Regions from separate parts of the Homo sapiens genome. Here region 2 is linked to region 1. The links are contacts of gene promoters, found by promoter capture Hi-C in blood cells and fetal thymus (Javierre and others, 2016). All regions are on one chromosome and are shown on one strand. Each heading gives the region's core, a stretch centred on a gene start or on the middle of the fragment in contact. The rest is flanking DNA. Distances are from core to core; before and after follow the strand shown.

Region 1 (5,196 bases), core at 1,229-3,728:
GTTCACTGAAACATTATTATGGGTGTGTGTACACACACACACACACACACACACACAGAGGCATATATATTTTTTCATATATATGTAAGAGAGTGAGAATATCCCTCCTTTCCTTTCTCTCCTCTCCCCTCTCATGATTCAGAGATGGGCTACATACAAGGAAGGAACGTTGGATAAGAAGTCAAGGAACATAGCATCTATTCCTGGCTTTGAATTAACTTAGTGGCTTGGGGTAGTGCATCGTTTCCTCAGTTTTAAAAAGATGGGATTCTAATAGATGATCTCACAGGTAAACTTCTACTGCACTATAATTCTACAGACTTATCATCTATTGCAGTGAATTTTAATAAGGTATGTGCTTTTCTTAGCTACTTTTCTAATCCACACAACACCACAGGAAGGAAGACTCTGTAAATACGCCTAGGTTATAGAAGGGAAACGACTAGGGCAATAGGCTTTAGTTCTGGTTTGGATGACATCAGACAGCCATATGCTTGTGGACAAACCCTTCTGATTTCTGGGGCTACTTTCTCCACTGGAAAAGCGCGGGGAATAGGCCACATGCTATCTTAGTTCTCTGTGGACTTTGGTGTAGGATTTCAGAAATCTGGGTGTACAAGCAAATGAGAAAGGTCATTTGATTACAGAGAATAGTTGTTTTGATATTGTATTCTGTGCCTTGATCTCTACTTCTATCATCAGCTCATATGCTCTGCTATTTTTTTTCCTAACTAAGCATTATTTTCTCAGCAATAACAATGACGCGGTAAAAAAGCATAGTAGAAGACCTATCGAAAATTGCTCCACGGGAGGTCCTGCAGTGACAGAAGAAAAGTTTGTAGCCAGTCAGAACATTCCTCTGAAAAAAAGAGGACAGAGCACTTGGATCAGTAAAAGGGTGAACTATCCGTTCTGAGTCAGACTGAATCTGCATCCAGACAGGAATCGGGATGGGATTGGGGCTGGAAGGGGTTCACCCTTCAATCCCCAGTCTCTTTCACTCCACTTCACTGCAGCGTTCCTATGAAAAACTTGACGAAGAAGTTCTGTGAAGGAACTCAAACCAGCAGCCAATGCAGGGAGGCAGCCACTGATGGCCTCAGTGAGGGAATGCCCCCGACGTACCTCCAAATCATTCCTCAGTCCAAATAGCCTAAAACTCTCATGAAGAACGTGATAGGAGTCCTCTCAGAATCCGAGTCCTCGGTCAACTTTACCCCAAGTTCTTTGAGCGGAACCATTTGCAGACCTTCCCGAATCCGTATCTATCCTATATTGTTTTACAATGTAGACATGTCTCTGAAGGGTTCCATTCGTGTTTCCCTGAAAAGACCCCCTTTGTAGGCCAAATACAAAAACTCAGAGATTACAAATGCCACCATATTTTGTAAGAACTGAAGACATTCCACTTTGTTCTTCCCACCCTGAAAACAACTGCATGCCAGTCTGCGTTTGTCATCTCTCCGTGTCCTTCCCTTCATCAAGTGTCCAATTCTCTTGAATAACGAGAAAATGCACATGAGATCTGAATGCATACAAGTCGCTTAACAACAACAATAAAATAATAATAATAATTTAAAAAAACCCTGAAAGTGAAATATAATTACCAGGTTAAAAAAAAAATGCGCCCAGTTTCGAGAGCCTATCACAGCTCACGTCTGGGCGCGCAGTACCCCCCCGACACTGCTCCTGTTGTGTCAGATAGTGGCAGTGTTGAGCCCAGGAATACGCGCGGAGCCCGCGGCGATCCCCGCGGCCGCTCAGTCTTCGCGGCGGACTCCGGCGCGCAGGAGCCACTGGGCCGCAAGGGCGCCGGGGAGCGGGAGGGGCGCTGGGGGCGGCAAGGGGTCCCAGATCCCAGGCCACGAACTGTTTTCCTTTTCCCCGGGCAAGAGCCCCGCTCCCTTCAACTGACAGAAATTCACTGGGGCAGGGGGGCGAGTGGGGAGAGAGGTCGCTCAGGGCTCGCTACTGGCTGCGCCTCCCCCGGCTCTGGTCTGGGAAGCGGCTCTGGGCCCTCCGGGCGAGCAGCTTGGGCGCCGGCGCCCCCTGCGAGGAAGATCGCGGGGTGACGGTCGGTACCCGTTCGGCTGGGCCGCGCTGCCGCTCCGATCCACCTCCCTTCCGCGCCCGCGCCCTCCCCCTTCCTTTCACTAGGAGTCCGGGATTCGGAGAGGGCGCGGGAGGCAGGCACACGGGCCCGACCCCACTCCAGCGCTCACCGGGGACGCGGGCGGGCGGCGACGGGACGCGGCGGGGGCGCGGGGCGGGCGCGGCCATGGAGCAGCAGCGGCGGCGGCGGCGGCGGCGGCGGCAACACTAGCGACCGCGGGCGGACGAGCGGGCGGGCAGGGCCGCCGGGCTCAGCGGACCGAACTGCACAGCTCAGCAAAAGCGCCCTCGCCCTCCGCGCGCCGCCTCCTGCGAGCCCAAACCCACCAACATTTTTTAACGCTCCAACCCATCCTTTGAAGAAAAGCAAAAAAAAAAAAAAAAAAAAAAAAAAAAGCAAAAAAAGAAAAAGCATTGATCGGAGAGACGGGGATATATATATATATATATATATATATATATATATAAAATTTTTTTTGGCTCCTGCTAAAATTAGCAGGGCTCGCCGCGCGCCTGTGTGCCAGTGTGTGCGAGTGTGTGTGCGTGCGGGCGTGTGTGTGTGAATGTGATTACTCCAGGACTCCTCGGGCTCCGGAGACGCCATTTTCCCCCTTGATATCTCTCTCCATAAATCGGTGGCGCGGCGGAGGCGGCAGAGTCGGGCGGGAAGCGCGGGGCCGGCCGGGGCGCCCGCCGCTCGCCGCCGCCTCCGCGCGCCCGGGGGCCCCGGCGCCCCCCGAGCTAGGGCGGCCAGCTCGCGGCTCGCCGTTTGACAGATGCTCATCGCCATGGAGTTGCCGCAGCAGCACCTTTGGGGGCTCGGGCGAGCGACGGGAGCCGGGATCTGAGCGAGCGCCGGGGCCAGCGGAGCCGGAGCCGCCGGGACATGGGTGAGCACGCGCGGCGACCTTGGCCCGGGAGCCCGGGCGCCCAGCCTCCCTCCGCGCCGCGGGCCCCCGCACTCCCGGAACCGGGGGCGACGTGTGTGCCCTGCATGCAAAAGTTCACGTCGCCTTGCTGGGTCTTTGACTTTGCACCCGGCGGGAAGGGGGAGACCGGGCCGAGGGGGCGGGATGCCGGTCCGGGCGAGGTTGCAGGAGATGGGCGCGATTCCGGCGGGCCGGCGGGTGGGCGGCGATGCTGGCTCAATTGGAGTGGCTCGTTGGTGGCGGCGATGGTGGAAGCTTTGGGCTGGAGGGCTGGGAGCTTATTGAGTTTCGCCTAATCTGATCTACCCCCCCTCCGCCCCCCGCCTTTTGCACCCTCCCTCGGTCCTGCAGCCGGCTGGCGGGGCTGGCGGGTTTGGCGTTGGTGGAGTGGACTCGGGAGGGGGAGGGGGTAAGGAAAGGGGTGGGAAGGCAGGATTTTTTTTTTCTCTCTTTGTAACTTGCAGGTTAAGTGGAGCTAGAGAGCTACATTGTAACCTAGTTGGATTTTTTTGGGGGGGGAATGTATCAGAATCTAACGTGTCGTTAATAGAAAGAAGAACAGGCAAGAAGTGGTCCAGCCGGCGAAGGTTGGTGTGTGCTTGTGTTGTGCCTGTGTGTTAGTCTTTTTCTTAAAAATCTTAATCAATGGATTTGAGTCTCTTTCTTGTGCTCTCTGGTTTTGGGACTCTGAAAAGATAGGAATTCCCTTAAAAGCAGACGAATGCCTTTTTGAAAGCACGCATTGTGTGCGTTTCTAGAGGAGCCGTGGGCTTGGGAATGAACGGCAGGCTTCCCCGTTCGGTGGTTTCCAGTGGGAAATCACTCCGGAAAGGGAACCCTTCGGTATCGATTTATTGTTTTTGTCTTCCAAACCATTATCTCTTTGACCGAAATACTGTCTGAGAAGTTCCGCAGGGACAAAGTCAGGTAAACTGGACCGGGCAGATCTTTGGCAAGATGGTGATAACGGGGATGCTGTTTTCAGTGTCTGTTTGTGATGGAAGCATTGTTGGGTAATAGCAATTTCTGATCGGTAGAGCATGCTGGTTCTAAAAAAATAAGTTAACTGCCGAAATACTGTCTTCCAGCCCCCCTCCCCTGCACAGTACAGCACCTATTCCCCCCGCCCCCCCATCCAGACCGCTTACTACAAGTCTGAAATCGGATCCAACTGGAAATATTTTCATTGGAGATTGAAAGTTGTGCAATTGGAAATAGATGAGGCTAGAGGTATTGAGAGTGTGGAAGGGGAGTTCTTATTGCCCCCTAATGCTGCATTTATTCTTTATGTGTGTCTGTGTTGGATTCTCAGGGTGTGTATCTGTCTAAAAGGACTGTTGTGGGAAGGATTTCCGATTCGTTTCCGTTTCAAATAAACTGTCCTGATAATCTCACGGTTGACATCTAACGCTAAAAGGGCAATTTGTGTGTCTCTTTATCCCTGCAGAAACTCTCCTCCAAAAGGGCAGTTTATTCTGGAATTCTACAGCAGATACCTTTCCCTTCCAGCCCCTACACTCCCCCCACCTCCTGCCAACTATCCACACCTTTCCCCTTAAAGTTTAGTTGGAGTCCACTGGCGTTGATTGTTTTTCTCTTACATCTTTTTCCTTCTTTTTCTTTTCATTCCTTCACTCTTCATCCTGTTTTTCTTCTTTTTCTGTAGATTTATACTAAAAACTAATTTCTTGAAGTCTCTGTACTGTCACCAAAACTATCTGCCGATTTGGCACCATCTCTTACCCTCCTTTAGTAAATAGGTATATCTCCTGTGCCCCATCCAAACTCATCTTCACGTGCAAAGCATGTGTGTGTCGTGGGAGAAAGGGGATGGGGTAGAGAAGAGGTATTTGGAGAGGAAGGGCGGTGTTGTGTGCAGGCCACATCTTCAACACTGGACCAGACCTGGGCATTCCGGGGAGAGTTTCCTTTGCACACCCCAGCTGGGATGGGAAGGCGGAGCCAACCAGACAGGGGCGTGTGAGGGAGGAGAAAGTTTGTAGCACTTTAAGATGTAGCTAGTTTACCATCCCAGGTCACTCCCTCCCTTTTTTTCTGATTTCTCTGGCTTCTACCATCCTTAAACTCCCTGAGGGAGGCGTGAGCTCTTTTGCTCTGACGAGGGATTCCCAGGTGTCAGAGTGAAGGTGAGGTG
Region 2 (5,196 bases), core at 2,008-4,507, 580 kb after region 1:
TTCAGCCTTTCATAATTGGGGCAGTCATTGTACTTTTGATTCCTGACACCTGCCTTTGTCTCGCCCACTGACAAGCTGGGTTATGGGACTCAGCGTTCTGGAGGTGCCGGAACAAATGTCCACCCCTATCCCCAGGGTACTTGATATTTCCTGGTGAAGAGACTGGTGGTACCTTTTATCTAACATTCCCTAGTTAGATCTCAGACGGTAGAGGAAAGAGGAGAAAACTCTTACTGAAGTATTTGGATTGTTGTTTCTCACTGGGAGTTAAAGGAACAGAAATAGATAAACTATGGCTGCTACAGAAGAATGAGGTGTCAGCAACAGGGCCAGCCCAAAGCTAAATTGTGGGGAAAAAAATAAGTTGACATCATCTTCATTTCAATCACCCCCTTCCATCTCTTTGAATTCCACTGAAACCTGGCACTTCTTTATGATAGTTCAACTGCCTGGAGAACTCCTGATAGGTGTGTTGTGCAGGGCCAAGAATGGCCTTCTGTGTCCTGCCTCTCCTTCTCTGTGATTCTTACAACTCCAATGCCTCATTCCCTCTTAGCTAATCCTGTGCTAAGGAACAGTTAAACTCAATTCGGTGGAAGGCATCTTAATGGATCATACTTTTGTGTTGCTTCTCTGATGTGATAATTTCATTTTAACAAAGGGTTAGTTACCAATGATAGAACTATCATTAAGACAGATTCTGGAAGGTTCAAATCCAACAGGAAACTTGCTATCACCAATTGATGACCAAAATCAGAACCTAATGGTTTACAGTTTTTACTTCTCAAAACTATTTTTCTTGACTGTGTTGGGAAAGAAAGGGAAAAGGGGCAAATCTCAGGTATAACCTAAATTAGGATTTTGGAATATCAGCTCTGGAAAGACCTTGAAAGGTCAACCAAACATCATAAGTACCCTGTGATGTCCCTTAGGCTGGGGCTCATGGTCAAGGCCATGAAATGGCCGTATATTACCCCTTTACATGGACCAGTGTTGCTCTTGTCTGCAGATTGTATGCTCTAATGTGGATAAATTGTATTTGTTTACATTTCTATAGACAATGCCAGACATTAAATTTTGTCACATCCTGCTACCCTTACCTTCTTTCCTGATGCCTCTACCATGTTCTTCTGAAGGACCCATGTGAAAGAGTGACAGTGTTTTCAAGATGGGCTTGTGTAGAAGTTGGTTTTAGTGACACATTTTCAAAGAGATGGAAGTGAACATTAAACTGATCACTGCATTTGGATCCATTGACTCTATAAAGTGGCAATTTGACTTTGGAAATTAGTTGTTCCAGGGATGATGGACACTGAGGAGTTTTAGATAAATTCACACGTAATAGACTAAGTTGTCTAGGAAGTTATTCCTAACTTTTGTATTTACCAGTGCATGAGACACATGTAATCCTAATGCATACCTTATGGCCCTTCTGCCATTATTGAGACTTTGTATGCTAATTCTTAAGTTCTTCCTCTCTTCTTTTAATAAAATGGCAGGTCAGCTATTGGCCAGCAAGAAGAAAAGTTAATATTTCAATCAATTTTAATCAAATAATGAGCTAGTAATTAAAATATGCAAGTCATGAGTTTTTAGAAATTACAATATGGTTAATATTGTTTCCAATTGATTTCTTTATTTCTATGTAGCTCTTGGCAATCTTAAAATATCAGTATATTGGAGATTTCCTCCATTTCTCCAACCTCATAGAGGAGGTTCCCCAAAGTGTGCCCTGCGGAGAAGGTATAAAATCACTGGTGTTAAGTAGGACCCAAGGGCCCCATAGTCAAGTATGTTTATATTACCTAGGTTGGCTAAAGTTCAATCTCTTTAAGGATTTCTCCCAAGTTTCAAAACGTATGTGCATTGTTTTTCATGTAAAAGGTGGCAATTATCACATATTTGAGCCACAGAACATCCTCTGGGAGAAATATCAGGCACAACTAGTACGCACAAGGACTATTGCTCCCAAATGAAGCACTTTGGAAAACACTTGTAATAATAACAACTACAGTAGTCACAACTGTCATGAGCATTTACTGAGCACTTAGTATATGCCAAGCACTGTTCTTCATATTTGGCATATCCTAGACCCCCGTTTCATTCTCACCACCATCCTATGAGCGAGCTACAGTTATAACCCCCAAGGCATAAAAGGCATAAATCACTTTTCCAAGGTCACCTGTTGTTACTTTTGGAGATGTGATTTGAACGAGGCTGACTGACACTAAAGCCTGGACTCTGCACGCTCACACTGGGCTCCCATCCCTCCTTTCTGTGATGGGAGGTTGACAATGGTAGGACATAGTGCCCAGGAGCCTACCATAACCCAGGAGCACAGATGCCCAGAAGTGCCCGAATCTCACAGACCACCCCTGTTGCAACAGTGAAAACATTACCAGTATCAGGAGTAGGAACATTTGATCAATATTATTATTTCCTATCTGAAATATTTAAACCTCTGAAATCTTAGAACCATTGCAATATGCTACAGCCCAGAATTTAGCACCTGATTTGATCTGCTTTCTTAGGGTTCCAGCTGTGTAAGTCTGGATAAGCTAGGTACTTTTGTCTTCTCAACTGAACTTTAAGCTTCTTGTAGGCAAGGACCTTTCTTATTGCTTCTTCCTGACATAATAAGTGCAAATTATATTGATCAATTGATTTGGATGACCATTTTAATAATCATCCTTTTATTCTTTGTTATAGTATCTTATTTTCCAGTAACGTCATCCACGTGGTCCTTTGCAGTTTGTAAATGCTTTGACCAGTACTGAGATCATTGATCCCCATGACAGCTCAGTGAGGGAGATGGAAGTTGTCTCTCCCCTTTCCAAAGATGACTAGGGGTGTGACTTGATCAGGCTCCTAGAGGAGAATTTGAAGGTGGAAGAACTGGAACTCAATGTAGTTTCTTCAAATCCAGGCCTTGCACTTCTCTCAGCTGCCTTGATCTCTACATCACCTCAGAGAAGTGCAGCGTCTCATCCAGGAACTACCATTCTCATTGGAGTGTGTCCCTTCATATGCTGACACTGGCACACTCACACGTGGATTTCCCTGAGCTCTGGAGCTACACTGCCTTCTAACCCCTACAGTTGCTTTTCAAATAGAAGGCAGTGGTTTTGGCCTGTAAGACATCAGGCAGAAAAGAAAGGGAGGTTTGGAAAACTTCAGTGGTACACTCTTATCTCCTCTCTCCTGCTCAGAGGGTGGAGAAAGATCCCTATCACTCTGGAATAATTTTTAGGGTTAGGACAGCAATAAAGTTCCTTGGAATCATGAATTATGTCCACTGTAGGGTCATAGAGGCAAAACAGGAAGAAATAATATGTTGGAGAGAAATGACAACCCAGGGCAGGGGAAAGAAACAGCATTTGGATAATTCGCCACAGCACAATTGCTGCTGTCTGGAAAAATGAAAGGAGTTTGCAGTGTGCCCCAAATCTATGGGAATTCATTTCACATAAATGGCACCAAAAGAATGATCATAAAGATAGCTACAGACTCAGGATTCCAAGTTGGCTGCCTTATGTTTGGCCAGAAATAATTTAGAAGTATGTAAGTGAGAGAAATACAAAGAGAAGGAAAGGTGAAGAGTAAAGATAAGAGTGATTCATAAATTGAATGAAGATTTTTTTTCCTATGGAATAATGCATTCAGTAAGGAAACAAGTATGTCTTCAAGGGCACTGAAGGAGCACTGCACTTTAGATATTGAAAATGGAACCAAGAAGAATGTGGCCAAAATGCTTAACGAGAAGGGTAATATTTTATTTCTTTAGTAATTGCCAAGCACTGAAGCCCAAGTTTACTCTGAAGGTATATTCTTGGAAGAAAAGAATATAAAGGAGTAATCTGGGGAAGTAGATGGCAGGATTTGTTTTGTCCCTCAGACAAGAGAAAAAATAACGGTAGAGCACAAAGCTTGAGCATTGGGCTCAGTATTTCTGAATTTGTCTTCTCAGATATGGTGCTAATGGAATGATTTTTTTGGTAGAGGGGGAATGGGAGGGAGGGATGTCAAAAAGCTAACTACTCCCTTAGCAAACTCTGACAGAGTTCAGGGAAGACCAGTTCTAGCACTAGAGAATTTTCTATTTTCCAAGTTTGTTAAAATATACACAGATGACAAGTTAGCCTGAAGCAAAATCACGAAATAGGAGAACATTGGCTTTAGGACCTTATGAATCAATCCATCATTAGATATTTATTGAGCAGCTCCTCTGTGCAATGGATCATACTAGGGAAGGCATAAACACAAGGCACATGTGTCCTTGCCCTTGAACAACCTACAGTTTAGTTAGGAAGTCACAAGTTGCTATACCCAGAAGAATTAAATAGTATTCTGAGTCACATCATGAAGTAACAGGAAGAAAGATCTTACAGAGATCTTTAAATTTGAAGAGCAAACACTATGTAGCATTTACCATGTTGCAAGTCAACTTTTAAAAACTTCACACTCAGTAACCCTACTACTGGGTACATACCCAAAGGAAAATAAATGGTTCTGTCAAAAGACATATGCACTCATATGTTCATTGCAGCACTATTCACAATAGAAAAGACATGGAATCAACCTAGGTGCTCATCAAGAGTGGACTGGATAAAGAAAATAAGGTACATATATACAATGGCATACTACTCAGCCATAAAAAATAATGAAATCATGTCCTTTGCAGCAACATGGATGCAGCTGGAGGGCATTATCCTTGAATTAACAATGCAGAAACAGCCAAATGCCATGTATTTTTACTGGCATTTGTTGTAGAATCAACAATGTACTGGCATTTACTGGGAGCTAAACATTGAATACACATGGTCATAATGATGGTAACAACAGATACTGGGGACTACTAGAGAGGGGAGGAAGGGAGTGGGGAAAGGGCTAAAAAACTATGCATTGGGTATGATGATCACCACCAGGGTAACAGGACCATCCGTACCCCAAACCTCAGCATCGTGCAATATACCCATGTAACAAACCTGCACGTGTACCCTCTGAATCCAAAATAAATTTTATTTTCTATTCTCTTAATTTCTTTTTTTTTTTAATTTAAGTTTTAGGGTACATGTGCACAATGTTCAGGTTAGTTACATACGTATACGTGTGCCATGTTGGTGTGCTGCACCCATTAACTCGTCATTTAACATTAGGTATATCTCCTAATGATATTCCTCCCCCCTGCCCCCACCC

Evidence for each region. Contacts are between HindIII fragments. The CHiCAGO score rates a contact against its expected background, and 5 or more counts as called.
Region 2: a contact is called between a fragment that was not itself captured here and the fragment with the promoter of SETBP1-DT in region 1, in 1 of 17 cell types (naive B cells). The highest score is 5.6, in naive B cells.

The regions. Positions count from the first base shown.
Region 1 is chr18:44,677,394-44,682,589 of GRCh38, forward strand. SETBP1-DT (SETBP1 divergent transcript) reads right to left here and starts at 2,479. Exons shown (of 2, transcript NR_187430.2): 1 at 2,223-2,479; 2 at 1-1,496. SETBP1 (SET binding protein 1) reads left to right here and starts at 3,495. Exons shown (of 6, transcript NM_015559.3): 1 at 3,495-3,628. RefSeq lists silencers at 1,620-2,259, 2,930-3,179, 3,320-3,369. The HindIII fragment of the contact is 7,071 bases long and covers 1-3,294 here.
Region 2 is chr18:45,255,979-45,261,174 of GRCh38, forward strand. It overlaps a transcript of SLC14A2 not described here. Among named protein-coding and RNA genes, the nearest start is that of SLC14A2-AS1, 250 kb to the right of the region's middle. The HindIII fragment of the contact is 1,334 bases long and covers 2,591-3,924 here.